Regions from separate parts of the Homo sapiens genome. Here region 2 is linked to region 1. The links are contacts of gene promoters, found by promoter capture Hi-C in blood cells and fetal thymus (Javierre and others, 2016). All regions are on one chromosome and are shown on one strand. The core of a region is centred on a gene start or on the middle of the fragment in contact, and the rest is flanking DNA. Distances in the headings are between cores, read along the strand shown.

Region 1 (3,735 bases), core at 457-2,956:
ACAGCTAGACTCAACCCAGCAGAAGTAGCTGCACTGGGAACCTTACTATGTGTTAGGTGCTTTGCAGCTATTCTTTCACAACTCCATGAGGTAAATGGTTTAATCCCCTTTTTCCAGATGAGCAAACAAGGCTCAGAGAAGCTCAGAGGTTGTCTAAGGTTACAAGGTCACACAGCTGGAGGGGAGAGAGGGGTCCTCTTTTCCCAGAACCTTCCTGCTCTGCGTTGTAGGTCTGGAGATGCCAGAAGTGGCTGGAAGGAGTTATAGCTGGACACACTTGGTCCTACAGAGGCCTTCACCCCAGGCTGCCGGAGAGGAAGCTGAGGGCTGGAGAAGAATTAGGGTGCTAGCTGGTCACTCTAAGAGTTATCTAATGATAGTGAGCCCCAAGCCTCAGCCTGTGCTGCCCACCCAGAGCTGCTTCACCTCGCCCCTCTGTGAACTGTGTTCTGGACCCAGAGCCACCTGAGTTCTCTCCTCTGACTATAGGTGTCCCTCGATGACCACAGAGCCGGGGGATGGTGGGAGCTAATGGGCCCTCTGAAAACATGGGGCCTGGGTCATGGCTTCCTGTGGCCACAAGGGGGCAGAGTCTGCCAAGCCTGCAGATTCCAAGCAGGGTGGGCTTTTCCATCCCCTCAGCTACACTCAGGCCTGAGCCACTCCCAGGAGGGCCAGCTAGGCTTCCATACCAGCCTGGTCTCTGAGAGCTGAGCCACCCTGGGAGCTGGTCTAGGTCTGTCCCCCTCCCAGCCTCCTATGGATCTGGCAGCCTAGTCATGCTCCTAGAAGTTTCCCCCTTGAGCCATCGTTCCTGATCCCAGCCAGCCTTCCTGAGCTCCCACTGCTAGCACTCCCAAACACCCTTTTGGGGCCCTAGAGCCTTCGTAAGTCCTCATTAGCCAGCCTCCTCTTGGGTCCCAGCTACCACCCTCATCCCCATCCTTTAGCACACAGAATGCCTGCACACCTGTGGAACAGACCCCCAGGCCTTCCCGGGGTTGTCCTCCAGGTCCTGGTGTGTGCCTCTTGGCTAAGTGGAATCAAGGCCTCCGAGCCAGGCCAGTGACTGTTGTCCGTGATGGAGGGAAAGGCAGGCAGGGCAGCCTTAGGAGCCCTCTGCGCTAGGGGGAGCCCGGGAGCAGGTCTCTTGAGGGCAGCTCAGGCCCTGCCTCCTACCTCCTTGTGGTCTAGGGCCATTTGGTTCTCTGGCCCTTGCCTCCCCATCCACCAGCCCGCTACTCACCACGGGGTCCTGCACCTTGTTCTTCTAGGCACCTTTCCGGGGACCAGTGCTGGGCTCTCCCCCGAAGCTCAAACAGCGCATGCCCAGGACTGTACACCTGGCAGTGCCTCTTTTAGCCAAAAGTGTGGCCTTGGCAGCCAGTCTGCACCCTGTAGCGGCAGCGGGAGCCTCACATTACAGTGGGCCGGCAAGGCCAGCACAGTCCAACAAGCGACAAGAGGGACTGAGGGGCTGGGAGGGGCGGAGAACTGTGCCGAGGGCCCAAGAGAGGGAGGATGCAAGAAAGGAGAGGAGGGGGGTGGTCCTGTCCTCTCCCCCAGCCCAAGAGCGTCCATCCAGGGCTGGGACCAGAAACAGGCAAGTGGGCTGGCTTACCTCGGGTGTGGGGCTCCAGGCCCGGGTGGCAGCGAGGGCTGGGGCCCGAGGGACCTGCTGCTGGCGGAGCCCCCGGGCCTTGTCTGGGGGCCGGGCCCAACTCCATCCCTCAGCAGCCTCCTGCCCGCCGCCGCAGCCGTCCGGTGTCAAATTCCAGCCCCAGCGTCACCAGATCCCGGGGTGGGGCTGGGAGCGCCCCTGCCCCGCCCCACCTTTCGGGGCTCACCTGGCTGCTCCACCCGTCGGATCCAGTCCCCCCTAGCTTGGCTAGGTCCCCCGAGGTTGGGAGGGGGGTAGATGCTGGGAGGGGCCCCTCGGATATGGAGAGTAGAGAACTCGAGCGGTGGAGAGGCACGGAAACCGGGAGTTGAGTTTGTAGACTCGCGAAGTAGAGAGCTGGGAGGCCGGGCCGAGGGCGGGAGAAAGTGAGTGAGGGCGGGGAGCGAGGGGTAAGCCGGTCCCTGCGTGGGGCGGCTGACTGCTGGTACGTGCAGATTTGGGGGTCCGGCTGTCTGCCCTGCAGCAGCTGCTCTCTGCTCCACCCGATTCTTCTCTCAGCGGCCAGTTCACCTGCCTTGTTGGGTTGCTTAGCCTCTGCGCAGCTTTCAGGATCTGACTCTGCTCTAGTCTCCCCACAGCTCACCTCCTGTGCTGCTTAGGGCTTGGAGTACGGACACACTTGCAAACACGGGAGTCACTGGGGCACAGCAGGGGCAGTGTTGGCAGAAGTGGGTACTGAGGGCTGAAGGCAGGGGTCACAGAGGAGGAACATCTGAGCTGAGTCTTGAAGTAGGTAGCTGGAGGGCAGCATTTCAGATGCCTAATTATGGCAATTTGGCAGGTGGGTTGAGGGCTGGGTGAGTAACATGGATGGAAAGATCCTAACACTGGGGACCATGGGAGGGTTTTGAGCAGAATGGTGTAATCAGACAGGCATTTTTTGTGGATGACTCTGGCTGTAGTAAAGAGGATGGGGTTGGAGAGAAAGGTGGAGGCTGCTGTGGAAAGAGGATGAGGTCTGATGCAGGGCATGAGGGGAGCGTGGGGCTGCCAGGCCCCAATCTGGAACACGCAATTTTGAAAATTCATTAGTGCCTGACTGGATAGGGTGAGGAGGTAGGTAGACCCTGCAAAAGTGTGCCTTTGGCGGGGTGACCTGGGGGAGGGGTACATCCCGGCTCCTGGGAGGAAAGGCAGGGGCTCATGAGTTCGGTGTTGGACATGTTGAGTTGGAAGGGCCTGTGGATTATCCAAGTGGAAATGTTCAGGAAGCCGGTGAATTTGTAGCCTGGAAGGAAGCAGAGAGAGCTGCGCTGGCAAAGGCAATTTGGGAATTGTCAACCAACTGGCAATTGGAAGCTGTGGTCAGGGATGAGAGTGCTGGGGATGTGTGTGGACCAGCTGTACCCTGGCTATGCTTCTGAACCACTAGGGACCTTTAAAAACTACCCACATCCGGGCCTCAACCCAGACCCAAATCAGACTTTCAGGGTGGACATGTGCAGTTTTCAAATTGCACAGGTGATTCTGGTGCATGGCCAGGGCTCAGAACCATAGCTGGTGTGAAAGTAGTTTTCCGCGGTGGTGAGGACTAGAAGTCAGACCACAGAGAACTGCTGCTGGAGGTGGTGGGGCTGCTGCAGGCGTGCCAGGAGCCCCCTGGGATAGGAGGCCAAGCAGGGAGCAGTCTGCTCTGTCACCTCCCACAACCGGCTGCTCAGTTGGGGCACCTGCCTTGGGGCTTTTTCAGCCAGGGACACCACTTATGGCCATTCAGCCTATGCCCTGTACAACTCCACGGGGCACCATCCAGGCAGGAACATGTGCATGGTAGTGGCCTTATTTCCGGTAGAAATGGAGGGGGTTTCTGGGTTGACCTGTCCCTCAGTCAGGGCCTCCCTTACCCCCCTAGCCCAGGAGGCTTCTGCCTAAGGCCGGCCACAGTGGGAAGGAGCATGTGGGAGGCTGCTGGTCCCTGGGATGGCCGGGACTCCAGCCTTAGGGCTCACCAGTGGGAGGGCAGCCCAGGGCTGCCTGGAGTCTTGGATTGGGGTGGGCAGGAGAGAGGAGCAGGAGCCGGCCACCCCACTTACTGCCTGCCACAGTGGCAGTGT
Region 2 (4,039 bases), core at 355-2,854, 390 kb after region 1:
TGGGGGGCACCAGGGGATGTATGGAAGGGCCCACAAGCTCTGATCACACCATGCTCTGGGCAGAGGGGTGAGACGTGGTCGATCCCTCATGAATGCTGTGAAGACGCAACAGAGCAGAGTGCATGACGGTGAACACGCCTTGGGGCCCCACAGTGATACGCATGGACTTTGATAGGGGAGTTGTGATCAGACCCAGGTCCCCGCTGACCCACAATAGTAAGAGAATTTGCAAGGTGACAGGGCAGGTGACCAGGAATGGGCAGGGCTCAAAGGTGCTCCAGTCGTTTCTGAAATTTGAACCCTTGTCTCAACTGAGATAATCAAAGTTCATGAGGTCAGAAGGCAGCAGTTGAGCAAAGGTGTTGGACAAAGCAGGTGGGAATGCAAAGTGGGATGGGGCCAAACACAAAGGAAAAGGGGTGAGAGTTGTCCCCTGTCCCAGGATCCCACCAAAAATCTGAGACAGGAGCTGAACAACAAAGTAAGAACGGTGAAGGGTGTCCAGCCTTCATTTACACCAGTTCTTCAAGTAAGAACGTTGATAGGTGTCCAGCCCCATTTACACCAAGCTGGGGATGGATCTGCTCCACGATCCCAGAGCTGAGGTGGCTGAGACCACAATGACGCCTGCAAGGCCACAGTGGGATGGAGGTCACACATCACCAAGGCCCTGCCTGAGCTTGCGCTATGGTGCCACATGCAGCCAACGATGGAGCACCTTCCCAGCGGCCATCAGGTGGTGGACTATGAGTGGCTCTTCCTCCCTGGGCCTGTGGACACATCTGGTATCCTATGCCAGGCCAGGTCATCATGGGGGTATGGTCCCCTGATGGACCATCCTGGAGCCCCTGAATGAGACACATGAGTTTATAACTCAACAGCTGTGTTGCACCAAAGGACAGGGCACAGTGGCCTCGTACCGGCATCATCGGGTATAACAATATAATAGTCACAGAGGTTAACTTCCAGGAACAAGCATTCCAAGCATGCAACCCCTGCCAGGCAGGCTTCATAGGGACATAGGCCCCCAGCATGAGCATATCTCCCTGCTATGAAAATAAAATGCACAGCACCGTCATCATGGGATATAGCTCCCCAGTACAATGAGCAGAGGCTTAATCCCCTGTAGCCGCCTTGGTGCAGTAATCATAGCAGTATAACGCCCAGGTGCAGACATCATGGAGGTGTAATGGTGTGGTCTAGACATCACGTGGGCGGACACAGAGGGTACAGACATCATGGAGTGCAGCTGCCTGATAAGGACATTACAGGGGTGCAACTCCCCATACATTAGCAGAGGTGTAACGTGCTGTTACAGACTTCATGGTGGGGGCAGAGCTCCCAGGAGAGCCATCATGGGGGTAAAACTCCCAGAATAGACACCCATGTGGTACAAGCCTGGATGAGAGTCTGGCCATGGGTGTTGGAGAACTTGGGCCTCAGGTAACCCTACCCCCAACGTGGGGCCTCCAGAAACCCCCTGTGTATCTGGGTTGGGGTGCTCAGGACACTTTGTTCAGATCCAGAAAGTAGAACAGAGAGCTTCTTCCAGTGGTCCATGATGGACACAAGGACACAGATGCCCAGGGAGATGGGGAAACACAAGGGACACACACAAACACATTCTCAGGCAACTACTCTGGCAGCCACACAGCTGTACGAGCCAGGGCCTCTCCCTCACCAGCTCCTGGCGAGAGCAAGCTGCCTCCCGCCCTGAGACTCCGGGCACAGAGCCTGCCCTGGTGTCAGGCGGTTCAGGCCACTCCCAGCTCCAGGGCCTCCCTCATCAGAGCAGAGCAGCCCTGGATCCCCAGGCCTGGCCTCAAGAGTAGACCTTGGCCCCCAGAGTCCCAGGGTCCCAGGGTCACCTGTGGGGAGAAGGTGGGAGAGGAACAAGGGGCAGGGCTGCTGCTAGCCTGACTGCGGTTGCGAGGTTGAGCATCTTGTGAATCCATGCAACGGTGTTCACAGCAGAACACCCACTTCACCAGCATGGCTGGGTGAGCCTGGGCTTTCAACAACCGAGATAAAAACAAGGCCGGAGCACTGGGGCACTCAAGCTCGTCTCTGAATTGCACTGTGGACCATCCGTTCTGCCAAGCTGACATACTTGGGCAGGAACACAATTACATACGGTATGATATTATAGAATATAATTGGACACAATTTTTCCACATTCAGAATGGTTTTAATATATCCTTTTCCTTTGCTACGTCAGTGTAAAGCTGCCAACTGCCCTTTCTTGGGAAGAACTGTCCTTTATTCTCAAATATTGTCCTTGGTGTTAAAATGTTCTTTCCTGTATGAAATGATGGGGACAGCAGATAGCAGTTGTTTTTTTATAATGCCTTTACTTGGCAAAATAAAAAATTGCCAACCCCATGTCTGGCTCTTGAGTACTTTTGGAAATTGTATTGGTTCGTGAAACCAAAGAGCCTGGGAATCACTGCTTTGAGGGAAAAGGAAGAAGCAGGCACTAGACCAAGCCACAGCATTCGCATATGAACGTCACAGAAGATTCACGTTGCAAAACACAGAAGCCATGTCACCTCCATGCAGCCCACCCTAACCACCCTGCCAGCCTCTGTGGGGGCCCAAGGGACCATGTGATGGGGGCTTCCCTGGCTGGAGAACAGCTGGGATCATTCCTGAGTCCTCATCATAAATACGCAAACACAGATTGATTTGTTTTCCTTGGGCATGCATTATTATTCACAAATATTAATTAGTCTCCAAATACCACCTGTTTCTGTAGCCTCCCCCATCTCACCTCCCCAGGCCAGGACCCTGGGGCCCAGAAATGGACATGAGCAGAAGGAGGGGTATCCAGGGCCCTACAGAGCAGACGGCCAAGAGGAAAGGCCAGCACTTGGGCAACAGGAAGGGAAGAGCCTGTCGGCAGGGAGAGCTCTGAGCCGTTCATCTTCTAACCAGCGGGCAGCTAACCGAGCCCTTTTGTCATGTCCTGGACAGTTCACCGCGTGGCACTGCAGCAGCGGCCGCGGAGGCGGAAACAGGCCTTGTTATACTTGGGAAGGGAAAACCAACATGTTTCCAGCTCTCACCAAACCAACCACTGGATTATGACGGGAATAAATTATAGTCTCAGCCAGGACCCCTGACCCAGGGAAGGAGGGGCCTGTGGGGAAGAGGGTGAGGCCGCCTTCCCTCCTCCAGCCAGTTGGCCAGAATCCGTGAGCAGAGCCAGGAACAGCCCTCCCTCCCACGGCTGGTATCGGGGCTCCCACCAGCTGGACTGAGTCCCACCCTGTTGCAGCTCTCAGTTTCTCCATCTCACTGAGGAGTGGAGGGGGAGATTAGGAGGAGTGTCGCAGAGACTTGGAGGCGGCAAAGGGTCAGCAGGAGACTAACTCTGGAGGCAAATGACCAAAGGGGACCAGCAGAGGTATCTTCCTGCGGCTGTAACCCCTAAGCCTCCAGGCCCCTTCCTCTGGGGCTGGGGTCCCCCTTGGATTACTGTTTCCCAACTTTGTGCCTCCAAGCCTCTGTACCTGCCGTTCTGTCTATTGGAAAAAAATGTCCTTCTCCTGCCCCAGCACTCACTCACCCCTCAGAACTCTGCTCAAGTGGCCCATCACTATCCATCTTCCCCACTGACCCTCCCCAATTTTCCAGGTTTGTACAGTATAGTGAAAGCAGCAAGAGGCTGTAGACCAGAGGTTCTCAATTCAGGGTAATTTTGCCCCCATGGGACATTACGCAACGACTGGAGACATTTTTGATTGTCGAGACTGGGGAAAGCGGGGAGATGCTACTGGCATCTAGGGGGAAGAAACCAGGGATGCTGCTAGACACCCTACAATAACAAGCCCTGCCCCCACAATAAGGGTTATCTGATCCAAAATGTCAATGGTGCTGAGGCTGAGAAACCCCAACACAGACAACAAGATCCTTTGCCAATTGAGCCTAGAGCCTGACCTGGCCCCTGCCCCAGAACCCAATCCCCTGTGGGCACCCTGGGCCTTGTACCCAAGGAAGCTCCAACCTGGCTTAACTCCTGTATTTGCTGGCGCCTGGC

The links. Contacts are between HindIII fragments. The CHiCAGO score rates a contact against its expected background, and 5 or more counts as called.
Region 2: a contact is called between a fragment that was not itself captured here and the fragment with the promoter of ARTN in region 1, in 9 of 17 cell types (megakaryocytes, fetal thymus, naive CD8 T cells and 6 more). The highest score is 8.7, in megakaryocytes.

The regions. Positions count from the first base shown.
Region 1 is chr1:43,931,772-43,935,506 of GRCh38, reverse strand. ARTN (artemin) reads right to left here and starts at 1,706. Exons shown (of 5, transcript NM_057091.3): 1 at 1,622-1,706; 2 at 1,247-1,395. RefSeq lists enhancers at 1-175, 2,265-2,314, 2,944-3,444 and silencers at 1,065-1,114, 1,665-1,754. The HindIII fragment of the contact is 8,131 bases long and covers 1-3,735 here.
Region 2 is chr1:43,539,914-43,543,952 of GRCh38, reverse strand. All of the region lies in intron 2 of PTPRF (protein tyrosine phosphatase receptor type F), which reads right to left. Among named protein-coding and RNA genes, the nearest start is that of PTPRF, 11 kb to the right of the region's middle. The HindIII fragment of the contact is 9,596 bases long and covers 1-4,039 here.